3 separate regions of the Homo sapiens genome follow, and regions 1 and 3 are each linked to region 2. The links are contacts of gene promoters, found by promoter capture Hi-C in blood cells and fetal thymus (Javierre and others, 2016). All regions are on one chromosome and are shown on one strand. Each heading gives the region's core, a stretch centred on a gene start or on the middle of the fragment in contact. The rest is flanking DNA. Distances are from core to core; before and after follow the strand shown. Region 1 holds the start of RAB33A (RAB33A, member RAS oncogene family). Region 2 holds the start of INTS6L (integrator complex subunit 6 like). Region 3 holds the start of ZNF280C (zinc finger protein 280C).

Region 1 (4,881 bases), core at 22-2,521, 5.3 Mb before region 2:
GGCTTCTGGCAAATTAGACCCAACCACTTTGTTCTACATTCAGCTGCAGGGGGAGGTGAACCCTCCTAGGGATTCCCAACTCCCTCTGAAACTCCAGCGTTCTGGAGGGACTTATGGTTATATGGAGGGCTTGGGAATGGAAGGCACTGTGGAGCTTATGCCATTGTCCCAAGATCCTCCACCTGGGCCAGTAATGGCTAGCCCCGTAAACAAAGTCCCCTTTTGCTGGAACTGCCACCACTAGCTTCCCCCCCTTCTCCTAGCCTCTGTGTGGCCCTCTCCCGCGGCGGGCCTTCCCCATTGGCCAGCCAAACACAACCGACTGCGGCAGCCAATAGGAGCCGCTCTCCTGAACATTCAGAGGATGGGTGCGCGTGGTGTGATAAGGGGATGTTGGCGCCTGGTACGCGCCCCCCTACATCTGGCAAGTCTGTAACAGAAACAGTTACACCCCCTACACACGCACACGCGTGCCCGCTGGCTCCCTCCTCTCAGCTGTACAGGCCCCGGACAACCCACTGCGTGTCTTGGCAGCGGCCTCCCAGGCTGCCTGGGGCCCGCGAGTGCACCTGCTCACTCATTAAGACAGAGCATCCCTTTATCCCAAGGCGCGGGTCGGGTAGAGGGTGGGGGTAGAGGGGACGGGGTAGCGGGGACCGGGAAGGCGCGGCTCAGCTGCCCGCTGCTCCCGAGGTGAAAGAGGTGCCTCCGCCCCCACCCCATCCCCGCAGAGTTGCGTTGCTCCAGGGAGGCCGAAGTGATCCAGTGATGTCTTAAGGTGCAGCTCTTTGTCCTCCCCAGCTGTGCTCCCTGCCCGCTGACCCCGTGCGCTCGAGCCAGTGGGGGTGGGGAGCCCGAAACCTATAACATAAACGGGGGCAAGGAGAAAGAAGTCTATCCCGGGGTGGCGTGTGCCGCTGTCCCCACCCCGTCTCTTTCCTCCTGAGGCTTCTTCCCTCGGGTCCGTCCCGGGAATGCAGGCAGGGGAGGGTGTGGGCCGAGGCGCGGCGGCGGCTGGAGCAGCGCGGTAGGGTCCTTCGCCAGAGCATCCGGTCCGAGGGCGCACACAGGCAGAAGGCTCGCGGCTCGTCCACTCTCCTCCCTCTCTCCTCCTCTCCCTGGCTTTTGTGTTGGTGCCTCCGAGCTGCAAGGAGGGTGCGCTGGAGGAGGAGGAGGGGGGCCCGGAGTGAGAGGCACCCCCTTCACGCGCGCGCGCGCACACGGTGCCGGCGCACGCACACACGGGCGGACACACACACACGCGCGCACACACACACGCACAGAGCTCGCTCGCCTCGAGCGCACGAACGTGGACGTTCTCTTTGTGTGGAGCCCTCAAGGGGGGTTGGGGCCCCGGTTCGGTCCGGGGGAGATGGCGCAGCCCATCCTGGGCCATGGGAGCCTGCAGCCCGCCTCGGCCGCTGGCCTGGCGTCCCTGGAGCTCGACTCGTCGCTGGACCAGTACGTGCAGATTCGCATCTTCAAAATAATCGTGATTGGGGACTCCAACGTGGGCAAGACCTGCCTGACCTTCCGCTTCTGCGGGGGTACCTTCCCAGACAAGACTGAAGCCACCATCGGCGTGGACTTCAGGGAGAAGACCGTGGAAATCGAGGGCGAGAAGATCAAGGTGATCCAGGGGGTCAGGTCCAGGAAGGGTGGGACCCGGGAGGGGACCTCGCCCGAGGCATAGCTCTAGCGGTTGTCGTCGTCCAGCGTCCAGCGCGTGGCGGTTTCGCCTCTTGCTGAGCCGAGGACCCTCGGCTCCTCCTCACCCCTTTTCACCTCTCTCAGCGGGGCCCCGTCCCCACTTCACTCAGTTTTTTAGGGCGGTTGAGAATGGGGTTGCATTCTTACCCTTAGCCCCTGCCTGACAGGTCCTGCCAGGAAAAGCATGTTGGATTCCCATCCATGACCCCTACCCCGAGCAGCGGCACCTGTGGGCAGAGGGAGGCAGGAGGCATCTGTGGGTCCTAGTCTCTGGGATGGATCCCAAAGCACTTTACACATCCTGATGTCTCTTCTACTGCTTGGGTGCCGATAGGCTGCAAAACCCCACTTTGGCTAAGCCTCAAGGCGTTAGAGGGAAGGAAATGATGGAAATCCATGGAGAATGAAAAAGCTGCTTTATTTTAAATTGCAGTTTATAGTTAAAAAATTAGGGCTGAGTTGAGATGGCGGTGGAGTGGGGTGGTTCTGGCAGAAAGCCATGAGCCCTTTTAAAGAAATTGAGGCAGGGTCCAGCCCTTCGTAATAGACAAAACTTGTTTTTTTGTAACAGCCCCCCTGGAATGATATCTTCTTTACTTGTCTGGGGCATCTAATACATGAACTGCTCCTTATTCATTCTGTTGGTATTGTCTTCAGGTCTTTGTAAAAATGCAGTGACTTAACCGAGGGCCAGGGGAATGTTCAATCCTCCCCCTCCATGAGTTTATGTAATAGGCTAAGTGCAAATATTCTTGTCTGACCATTTGTGCTCACCTTTAATTCAGAAAAGGTAGAAACCTGATATGACAGGAATATGTCAATGTGCAGGGGATGGCGGGAGGGAGGACATAACAAGGGCAACTTCTTGTGTCATGGGGAGCAGAGGGGGGCCTCTATAAAGGCACTGGGATCACTGAAGACAACTCCTCTAGGCTCACAGCTGGCCTTTCCTTGAGCGTATGGTTGGACCTTAGACAGAGTCAGGGGTGACAGTAAGCCTCCTTCTTGCTGGTCAAACTGCCAAAGTGACCACAAGGCCCCTCCTCTGAGTGACGTGGAGAGAAGGGCTGAGTAACTGATGAAACTGATGAAACACTTGAAACTGTGCGAGACTCCTGACTCCTTGATTATTAAAATGAACGTGTTCTAAAAATGGCTTCAGAAACTAGGCCAACTCACTAGATGTCAGGAAGATGGACAGCTCAGTACTGATAAGGGAGAGCCCCAGGGTAGGAAGATAGAACATTATTTTGAAATCGTGATCTTTTTTGCCCCTTGCATTTTGGAAGGGAAGTGCTACATTTCCTTTTAAAGTCAAAGGCGGTATCTGTCTCTGTCCTTTCCTGGGGCTGTTGACATTTGCTTGGTTAAGACTTCCTCTAGTGTGTCTAGCTTCTTTAATGTAAGGCTATAAGATTCTAGAATTTCTAAAACATGACTTTGTAATCCAAAGTAGAAATATCTTTACAGATGGGCTCTTAAACCTCAAAAACCTAATGCTCCCATTTGCTTAAAATCAAGTGCTACAGTGAGCCAAAGAGTTCCCTGGATTTAAAAGGTGGGAAATAAGTCCATCTGAAATTTAGATGGAAAAAATGAAGTGTTTGGGAATCTAAAGAAGGAGGGAGGAAGAAGCTAGAAAGTGAGGGATGACAGATGAACACGAGTGGAAGAGTCACCACCCAGTGGCCTTGAAGGAATTTTTAAACTATTCCTTCTCTTCTAACACCCCAGTACTTAGCCAAACTGGACTTTACAGTCTCTGGCAAAGATTCCAGACTTTTTCCCAGAGGGCAGAGCCTGTGACAGTGTGACTCACTAGAAACAGAGCTCAGCACAACACCACGTGCAGATAAGTGCTTAATACAGGCTTTTTTGGGGAAGATGATATTTTCAAGGGGACAAAGCCTTGTGACACTGCTCATGGAGGAGTCCTCTGAGGGCAGATTCCAAAGGAGCTCAGAGTGGCGTGTGGGAGTGGGGAGATGGTGACCCTGCTTCTTGTAAAGCTGCTGCAATCTCAGGACCATGCTGGCAGGCGAGAGACCAGCATGTCTGTGGGAAGATGGCAGAGCCTGGCGGCTAGCACGTGATCTAGATAAGAGAAGATTTGGCCTCGCACTCTGGCTAGCCTGAAGTTGTTCAAGGAATACATGCCAAAGCCATGCTTGGAGATGACTGCCAAGGGCTTCGTCCTTTGCGAGAGAGAGAAAAGTCCAGTGTGACAGTCCGAGGTCTGGCCTAGACCATGGCCAGCAATAGAAGGCTTTTGGGCTGTAACATACCAGCCCTTGGAGGAGAGTGGTAGAGAGGTCTCAGCCAGCTCTTCTCAGTCTAAGAGCAAGGGTGTGGCCTCTTCTGGGCTGCCTGCCTGTGTCCCGGGGTAGCACATACATGAACCCCTGCTAGGGACAACTGATTTGGTGTAGTTAGAGCCACACTGTAATTAATTATCAAGGCCATCCCTAGGGTATTGAAGCCCCATTTGCTGTCTCCAATCATTATGTTCCCCACCCTCACCCCATCAAAGCATTTACAATTGAGTCCTGATGAACTCAATTGTATGAACATCAAGAAAAGCCTCCAATGAGTAGGCAATAATAATAATAATAATAACAACTATGTATTGAATAAGCAAAGAGCCCAGGCTAGGCACTTTACATGCATTATCTTATTTACTCCTCACAGCAGCTTTATGAAATCAGCAGTATTGTTATCATTCCCATTTTATAGATAAGGAGACTGAGGCTAAGAGAGATGAAATAACCCAGTGGCACATGGATCTGAGCTTCAGCCTTTGACTCTTGAGCCCAAGCACTTCGCCACCTCACTATCCTACCTTTCCTGTTACAGGGCCACGATTTCAACCCAGATTCAGAGACCATGCCCTTTACCACTGCATTTCACTCTACAGGACAATATTCAGTCCCCTAGATTGGGGGAGTTTGACAGGGGGAGATAGAATGCCAGGCAGCCAGTCTTGCTCTTTCTTCTAGGCCAGGGACTTAGGGTTATAGCCCAAGGCCCCCAGGAGCCTTTCAGATGTCTCCTTCAATTTGTATCCAGGACACACAGAACTCAACTGGGTTTACTTTTTTTTTTTTTTTTTTTTTGAGAGGGAGTTTCACTCTTGTTGCCCAAGCTGGAGTGCAATGGCACGATCTCAGCTCA
Region 2 (4,756 bases), core at 1,072-3,571:
GAAAGCCATATGGCAGAGACCTGCAACAGAAGGTGGACCTGAAGGTGGCCTCTGGTCACCAGCAACAGCCCCAAGGAAATGAATTCTGCCAGAAATCTGAATGAGCCTGGAAGCCAGTTCTTTCCCAGGTGAACCTCCAGATGAAAACAGCCTGGCTGACACGTTGACTGCAGACTTATGAGACTAAGTAGAGAACCCAGGTAAACTTAGACCTCTGACTCATGGAAACTGTGAGATAGTAAATGCTTGTGTTGTTTTAAGCCACTAAATTTGTAATAATTTGTTAAACAGCAGTAGAAAACTAACACACTGCCCCCAACAGTCCTATATTTTTTGTACCCTAGCCCATGTAGGCATTGCCCTTCTACACTGACATTTGTATCGGAATGGAAATGGGGGCTTCTAGTATCTTTTTCATCCTTATTTCTTCATTAATTCCCTACTTTCCACCAGAATGGCCTGAAATGCACCATACATAGTACTATCTTTGGCTGAGTTTTTGTTCATATCATTCCTTCCAACCCAGATTCCCTCTCTTCCCTTTTTGTGCCTTGTTCGTGAAATCCTATGAATTTCTAGACTGGACCATTGTTTCCATAGCACTTTTTAACTTGCATCCTTGTTTGTCCCTGATTCATATACTGCCATATGACTTCTTTTAAAATCGTATTTCTCTGAGAATGTTATTGAATGTGCATATATAATATATGAAACATATACACAGAACATACATATATATATAGAGAGAGAGAGAGAGAGAGAGAGTGTATATAAAATATATAAAATACTTTTTTGAGATGTTATCTCATTCTGTTGCCCAGGCTGGAGTGCAGTGGTGTGATCTCAGTTCACTGCAACCTCCGTCTCCTGGGTTGAAGTGATTCTCCTGCCTCAGCCTCCCAAGTAGCTGGGACTACAGGCGCCTGCTCCCATGCCCGGCTAATTTTTGTATTTTTAGTAGAGACGGGGGTTTCACCATGTTGGCCAGGCTGGTCTCAAACTCCTGCCCTCAAATGATCCACCCACCTCGGCCTCCCAAAGTGCTGGAATTACAGGCATGAGCCACTGCGCCTGGCCAAAATATATAAAATATTATGTATGTATATGTCATCATCTCTCCTCAATGAAACTGCAAACTCATTGAAGTCCTGGATTCCACATTGTCAATAGTAATTGCCAGGAATACACAAGTCCAATTTTTAAAATTGTGTCATATGAAGTAGTCAATCAAGTGTGGTTGGCCACTTACTGAGTCTCTTCACAGAGCCAGACCTGAGAGTATCCGTAATTGTTACCCTAACCTCAGGGAGCTGCATTTTCCTCTACTGAAAATTGAATACAATGCCATCTGCCATAATTAATTCAAAGATTAAACAAGGCTACCGTGGGTGCCTGGCTCTTCATAGGCACTCAATAAATGTGAGTTGAGAGCCTGCCCCTGTGGTCCCAGCTACTTGAGAGGCTGAGATGGGAGGATCGCTTAAGCCCAGGAGCTGGACGCTGCAGGCAGCTATGATGGGGCCACTGCACTCCAGCCTGGGCGATCAAGCGAGATCCTCTTTATTTATTTATAAAAATAAATAAATAAATAAATATGTGAGTTGAATCACAATCTAGGTTTGCAAACCTCCATGTGTAAAGGCTGCGCAGAGGGAACAGTGGTGGAATTATCACAGGCAGGCCAATGTTTCAAAGAGCTTAGTGAAACTGAAGAAGCTTGTGCATACAAAAGGCCAGTTTAGGTAACTGTAACTGTGTTTAAGCTTTAGTTTCCTTTCTAAGTAGATATATGTGGAATGCAAGGCCAGCAACCAACTCACAAATACTGATCAAGACGGGGGAGGGATCTAAAGGAATGTGAGTACGTCCTGCCAGGAAAGAAGTTTGCTGCTTCTGAAATATTTTCGTCTTCGCCACTGGCAGGATTGATCGATTGCAGTTAGCGAAGAATTTTCTGTGCAAACTGTCCAAGCATCTGCTTCTGTACTTCTGTACAACTGTTGCTCAAATTCACTCTTCTTTTCGAATCACCATCTTTGAAGAGAGACAGAAAAATCCATTTAAACCACCCGAACTAATCATTCGAACTGCTTCCAAGTCCTTTAAAGGAGAATCCTAGCGAGGGTCCGTAACACTTCCCCTTACCCTCTGCCTGGGTTCAAACTTCAACTCCCAGGGTTCGCCCAAGTCCCTCCCCTAGTCCTGTCATCTAATGAATATGCAAATACCACATAATTGGCAGCCAATGGCATGGGTTCTGGTCACATGGTGCCGATGGTAGGTGAGCAGACAGAAGTTGTCAGTGAACAGAGACGGCGCTCAGTCTGGGGCGAGCGCTCTAGTGAGCGCGGACGGATGCTTAGGCAGTAGTCCTGGCAGCGGCAGTAGTGGTGGCAGCAGAAGAGAGGAAGGGGGAGGGCCCCGAGGGCTACACACGCTCACACTTTCAAGTTCCCTTGGAGGGAGAGGAGGTGGGGCTGCAGAAAGAGGAGGCCAGGAGCGGTCCCATCCGTCCCGTCCCGTCCCGTCTCCCCCTCTTCCTCTTGCTCCTTGCTCCCCGGCTCTGCGAGAGTTGAGGGTTCAGGTGGCCGTACGCGGCAGTGAGGGCAAGAGGGCCGGGAGAGTGGGGAGCGGAGGCAGGAGTGCGGGGGAAGATGCCCATCCTGCTGTTCCTCATAGACACGTCCGCCTCTATGAACCAGCGCACTGACCTGGGCACCTCTTATTTGGACATTGCCAAAGGCGCTGTGGAGTTATTCTTGAAGGTAAAGGGAGGGGAGGGGAGAGATGGGGAGAGCTCCCGAGGGATTTCAGGGTGTGGATTGAGGTGCTTCTGTAACGTTTGTATCGCCCTCCCCCCTCCTTTCCTACGCGACCCCCTCCGTCATCCCTTGCCCCGCAGCTGCGCGCCCGGGACCCGGCCAGCCGTGGAGACAGGTACATGCTGGTCACCTACGACGAACCCCCGTACTGCATCAAGGTAAAGGGGCTACGGGTGGGGGGACAGGCGGGAAGCGGGAGCAAGTCGGCGGGGGCTGCTTACCCCCCTGCCCCCGCCTAAGGCGGTCCTGCGTCGCCCGGCGGGGCGGGCGGCGAGGGGGTGCGCAGAGGGCGGGCGGAGTGGTGCCGTCGGCGGCTTCGGAGTAGCTGTCGCGCCTGGGGTCGGGGAGAGGGGACCGGGGAGGAGCAGCCCCGGGGAGAAACCGCAGGAGGGCCGAGCTCGTGGCGCGACAACCGCAGCCGCCTCGGAACATGGCGGACATTTTGCTTTTGTATGAGCCTGCGAGAGGGAGACTGAGGGCGCTGCTGAGATGGAAAGGAGGGAGGGGAGGGAGGAGCGGGGAAGGAGGGCCCGAAACCCGGAGGGAGGCTGCGAGGCGGGCCCGCCCCTTCGAGGCGCACCGCGCGAGGGTCGCCGCGCGGGGGGCCGGACGGAGCCTGCGACTCCGCCCCGAGGTCCTGCCGGCCGGGCGCGCGGGCTTTCCCGGAGCCTGGGCTCCTCCTCTGGCCCCTCCTTCCTCCCCCGGTCTTCCTCCCCCTCCTTGGGCTCTTCGCTGCATCTCCTCCTTCTCCCCCTCTTCCTCCTGGTCCCCTCCCCTTCCTGCTGAGAGCGTGGCAGAGCCAGCCGCCGGCCTTCAAAGACTAGACAACCGCCTTTGCACTCGTTGGCCTCTCACCACCCCCGCGCAATCGGAAATCTGTCCGCGACGCCAGTCTCCCCACCCCCAGACCCGGAGAAAGTCTTTGCGTTTCTGCTCCGGAATTGGCCAGGTTCAGCCCCGCTCTCAGTTACCTTAGCTACTGTTACTGTTTCATTGGAAATTCCAGCGAAGCAACGACACGGAGGGGGACGTGCCAAGTGCGAACCCACAGGGGCAGAGCTTTTTAGGGATCCGCTCTACCTATTTACATCATAAATTAGGTTTGTGCTAGCCACGTAGGAATTAATCCAGGGACAAGAAAGAAAGGAAGGGGAGGACTCAAATGTGAGCATTTGTAATAGTCAAGTTCGATGATTTGATTCTGACCTACAGGAGAAAAGTAGGGAGGACGGTCTCTGTGGGGTAATTTATGTTCCTATGGTGAGGAGATAAAGAACTGCTGCTTTGCCTGCAGTGGCCAGATAAAATGGAATTTAAACTGTTAAATCAACCTGCATAAGAGTCCTGCTTGCATATTGAAATTTTAAAAATACTACCACAATCCTTGACGTCTTTTGTTAGGCTTTTTCTTTTTTCCTCAGAATAATCGTAATAGTGCTAGGGAGACGCAGTCTGGATGTGTTGTGATCCGTTTCTGTAGAGTGAGGTGTTTTAATGAATGGAACCTACCAAGCTGAATAGTTGGCCAAAGAGTGTTCCTTCAAGCATAAGGAAACCAAAGAGAAACTAATTTTGTAACTCGTAGCTTCGGTTAACTGTTTAATTAGTAGGTTCCCCTTAAAACTGTTCTTTTTTCGATAATTTGTTTTCAGTTTGTGATTCTATCCATTTAGAAAAGTGGAACAAGTAGACATCTTTCAAAATGCCGTAAGCTTTTTAAAAATGTCAGTTTTCCCAAAAGGATGTGATCATTTTTTTCCACATAGAAAAGGAGATGTTTATACATCCTAGGTCTGAATGTCTACACTCTTCGACTGCTAATACAGATAAGAACCGACCATTTGTAGTGTGGCCATTTGAAGACATGCTCCTTAATTCGAAGTAGTAAAAAAGATAAACCACAAAGCAGTGTGCCTTCTTTTCCTTAAAGGAAC
Region 3 (4,354 bases), core at 485-2,984, 5.3 Mb before region 2:
CACTGAAAACCAAGTAGCTGAGATTTGGAGTTATTCAACCTAAGAACTTTTTCAATAGGATATTCTTCAACTCTTCAACATGCTTAGAAATAATATTAAAGTATGAAAAAGTCGAAAAAAAATGAAGCCTTAAAAATAAAAATATAAAGGAAAAAGGAATTGAATAATACTTCTTAAAACTTTTAAGTGAGCCTCCTTGCTTATTCTCCGTGACCACCTCACTCTCACAAAAAGTGAGACATAATATACCAAATTGAACATTGGATGAGGGTCAGAAAGCCTAGGTTTAAGAATTGGTTCCATCACTTCCTAGGCACATGACCTCGGTAAAGTTCTGTCCTTGAGGCTGTTTCCTCATCTTCAAACAGTTCTAACGACACCCTACAGCCCATCTCAAAAGGGGTGCTACCAATGAAATATACAAATGCAAGATACGATTATAATGGAATCTGTACTGCTGTAGAAACATCAAAGGTACACAGCCCTAATTTTACAAGCAAATCAGTGCCTTTGTAGGCTCAGTGAAGTTTCTGCGTAAGGAGATTAAGTTTGCACAGTAACCCCCAAACCAGGACACCTCACAAATACTAAGAGGAGACTTTTGCAGTTTAAAACTCTACTTCTAGGTTTCTATTTTATGTTTAGGGGCACTAAAAGACATTACAACTCATAGTCCAAACCTGAAAACAATAGTAAAAAAAATTTAAGGTCGCAGATTTAAAAAACTCCACAAAACTAACAAATCTTTCCAAACAAAGAGAATCCCCTGGATGAAGGTCTCCCGTGCTTGCAGAAGCTGGTTCACTTGACAATTTCCTCTCGAATTTCTCCTTAAAAAAGCATTAAAACCTGAGAGAAGTTGAAAGGAACTCCCTCCATCTCTAGAGCAGGAGTATACCTCAGCATAATTTTTTCCATCTCTTTAAGTAAAACCTGCAAACCTCCTAGTTAGAATATAGTGTATTTAACTCCACGTTTCTCCTCAGGGCTCTTATCCTCTAGACAATAACGGAATAGAGCACGATTTCTGTGACAGAGAAGGGAAGTCCCTTTGGCCAGAACAAGGTTGTGGGCATGGAATGACCGGTCCTGTGTGGGGGGAACCTGCGCAGAAAGAAGGGGTCACAGGGTCTCTGATGCCTGAAAGTTCGGAATCCCCTCAAGTCTCTTTTCGTTTGATTGAAGAGACTTGAGGGTGGGCGGGTCTCCGTCAAACATCAGTATCAACCGTACAAAAGACGAAAGGGAGTTGCCTCCAGAATGAAAAGCCCAAACCGGGTTGGAAACAGACCGACAGGACTCAGGAGGTGAGAAGGCTGCCGCAGCTGCCGCGGCCCGCGAAACCACTGCCCGCCGCGGGCCGCCAGGCTCTACCTCCAGAAAACCCTCCCCCTTCAGGGCCCGGCGCAAGATGGTGGCCCACCAGCTACCACGCCGCCAAGCCTGTCCCCTCCCCCGCACCCCCGTCGATCCGCACCGGCATAGAGACCCTCAGCCAGCCGCCCTCAGAACCGCCCTCTGGGGAAGGCTGCCTCGGCCGCGCGGGAGAGCTGCTGCCTCCTTCCGCGCGGCACAGGCGGGGGCGGGGGCCGCTTACCGAGAGCAGAGCAGATCGGTCTGACTGGGGTTCGGATAAGGAGGAGGAGAAAGAGGAGGAGGAAAGGGAGGAGCGCGAAAAACCTCAGGCGACAGCCTCAGCAACAGCGACTCCCCCGGAGACTTCCAGCGCGGAACCGGCGTCTCAGCCGGGGGCAGAAGTATATAACTGCACGCGCTGCCTCATGGGTAGACGCCGACTCCACCCCCTGAACATCCGGGGCCTTTTAACCGCCCACGGACGGACGGCTGGTACTTACATGTGCACATGTGCAGCTACTTTACTTACCGTCGAAGGCAGCGGAGGAAGTGTAATTGACTAGCGTGGATGCAGCTTTTCTAAGCAAACGCTCGATTTAACCTGGAGTTGTCATCCCAAAAAATACATTGTACCTGACTACAGAGAAACATGAATTCTGGGTCTTCCTTGTGTGTGAGGGCTAAAGACACGAGTTAAAAATATAAATATATTGTTTTCTGGAAATACTGTACTTGAAACACGTCTCAAAATACTAGTTATTTTTACCTTTTGTTTTAAACATATGGTTTTGCTTGTCTCTCTGTTACTTCTAATTGCCATATGGATGCCTATAGTAGGTACAAAAAATGCTAAGGAAAAATACATTTACTCTTACACACAAGGAAGACCCAGAATTCATGTTTCTCTGTAGTCAGGTACAATGTATTTTGTGGGATGACAACTCCAGGTTAAATCGAGCGTTTGCTTAGAAAAGCTGCATCCACGCTAGTCAATTACACTTCCTCCGCTGCCTTCGACGGTAAGTAAAGTAGCTGCACTTGTGCACATGTAAGTACCAGCCGTCCGTCCGTGGGCTGGCCGCGGTGGCTCACACTTCTAATTCCAGCACTTTGGGAGGCTGAGGTGGGTGGATCACCTGGGGTGAGGAGTTTGAGACCACTTCCCTTTCCTCCTCGCCTTTCTCCTCCTCCTTCTCTGAACCCCAGTCAGCCTGACCAACATAGTGAAACCCCATCTTTACTAAAAATACAAAATTAGCAGGGTGTGGTGGCACATGCCTGTAATCCCAGCTACTTGGGAGGCTGAGGCGGGAGAATCACTGGAACTTGTAAATACATTTACAAGAAAAACACTTGCCAAAATACTGCTTACAGAAACATTTTCTAGACATTGTGCTTTGAACTGTAAAAGTTTCTTCTCCCAAATTTCTCCACAAGGTTTATAGCAGTACTGGTTCATCTCTCTTTTTCTTTTTTGAGACGGAGTTTCGCTCTTGTTGCCCAGGCAGGAGTCCAATGGCGTGATCTTGGCTCACCGCAACCTCCGCTTCCCGGGTTCAAGTGACTCTCCTGCCTCAGCCTCCCGAGTAGCTGGGATTACAGGCATGCGCCACCACACCCGACTAATTTTGTATTTTTAGTAGAGACGGGGTTTCTCCATGTTGGTCAGGCTGGTCTCGAACTCCCCACCTCAGGTGATCTGCCTGCCTCGGCCTCCCAAAGTGCTGGGATTACAAGCGTGAGCCACCACGCCTGGCCCAATTCATCTCTTAAGAGTTGCCCAGACTGAAAATATCGTGTGGCTTACATAACACACACGTAAATCCTGTCACTGAATCCTACCATTTTTTTTATTTGAGCTAGTTTTTTCTTTCTTATTTATACAGCTATTTGCTTCTGACCCTGAAAATAAGCTTTACAGGAAAAGACAGAGAATAATCAAAATAAAACAGTGAAAAGTCCCAAAATCTTGGAGCATGCATAGTTGGTCCCTGCTTCCGGTCAGGGTGATAAGAAAGTCCGGGCACCTTTTCCTTTGATGCCAGCAGGAAATTTAAAACTAGCAAATCTACAGCCGCATGACTCTGCTTTTGGCTGTAGTGGGAAATTTAAAACTTGTGATTCTCCAGCCTGCCTCCTTCTTTGGCATTGGTGGGAAATTTAAAACTGGCAACAAAAATTGGTGCAGTTGAGAAATTTAAAACTTGCAAATCTACAGCCTGTGCGGCATTTTCACCAGCCCCACTTCCTAGATGCTATAAAGGCCCATCCAACTTCCTCTGCCTCTGAAACCAGCCCAGACCTGTTTGCAGCACCCAGCCCTCCCTCACTTACCCCCACTAGTCCCCAGGGTAATAAAATTTCTCTCAAATTCTCTTGTCATATCTAGTGTCACGAGTGTCCACATCCAACCTAAAATTACGAGGAGGAATGGTCAAACTGCCTCAGCAGGATGACCAGAAAACACTTATACACCCAAATTTCAATCTAACTTATTCTTTTTTTCGTGAAAAATACAGCCAAGAAGACCAGCGGGCTCTGGTCAGTTGACTGTTTGCAGACTCTGGTCAGCAAATTTTCTATCAAGATGAAAATTTGAGAAACTAAATAATAACAATAATTAAAAGGATGTCTGGTGAGAATGGAATTAACACATGGGAAATTGTTTGGGTGATTTTTAACTGTTCTTAAAACTCTTCCCCAGGCTTCTAGAAAACCACTCTATATTGGTTCTCTTGACTGGCTGGCCGTACGTTCTTTTTTATTTTTCAGCACTTCCAGTAAATGAGGGCTTACTCCTGTATAGGTTTTTCTGACAATTTTAAAAATTGAGACAAATTTACATGAAAAAAATCTACCATTTTGAAGTGTACAATAGAGTGATTTCTTATATATATTTACAGTATTGTGCAACCATCACTGCTATCTAATTCCAGAACATTTTCATTACCTCCCACCAAAAAACCTGCAAACCTATTAGTAGCCACTCCTAATTTCC

The links. Contacts are between HindIII fragments. The CHiCAGO score rates a contact against its expected background, and 5 or more counts as called.
Region 1: the fragment with the promoter of RAB33A here is called in contact with the fragment with the promoter of INTS6L in region 2 in 1 of 17 cell types (M0 macrophages); the score reaches 10.1 in M0 macrophages.
Region 3: the fragment with the promoter of ZNF280C here is called in contact with the fragment with the promoter of INTS6L in region 2 in 1 of 17 cell types (naive CD4 T cells); the score reaches 5.3 in naive CD4 T cells.

Annotation. Positions count from the first base shown.
Region 1 is chrX:130,170,691-130,175,571 of GRCh38, forward strand. It overlaps RAB33A (RAB33A, member RAS oncogene family), which reads left to right and starts at 1,272. Exons shown (of 2, transcript NM_004794.3): 1 at 1,272-1,630. The coding sequence starts at 1,373. RefSeq lists enhancers at 1-45, 855-1,809 and silencers at 426-485, 656-735. The HindIII fragment of the contact is 5,739 bases long and covers 1-4,881 here.
Region 2 is chrX:135,518,339-135,523,094 of GRCh38, forward strand. INTS6L (integrator complex subunit 6 like) reads left to right here and starts at 2,322. Exons shown (of 18, transcript NM_001351601.3): 1 at 2,322-2,765; 2 at 2,903-2,980. The coding sequence starts at 2,655. INTS6L-AS1 (INTS6L antisense RNA 1) reads right to left here and starts at 2,336. Exons shown (of 2, transcript NR_046740.1): 1 at 2,229-2,336; 2 at 1,745-2,034. RefSeq lists enhancers at 2,476-2,555, 2,586-2,645 and silencers at 2,896-3,165, 3,226-3,425. The HindIII fragment of the contact is 2,771 bases long and covers 1,762-4,532 here.
Region 3 is chrX:130,267,165-130,271,518 of GRCh38, forward strand. ZNF280C (zinc finger protein 280C) reads right to left here and starts at 1,735. Exons shown (of 19, transcript NM_017666.5): 1 at 1,598-1,735. RefSeq lists a silencer at 1,436-1,515. The HindIII fragment of the contact is 6,334 bases long and covers 1-3,267 here.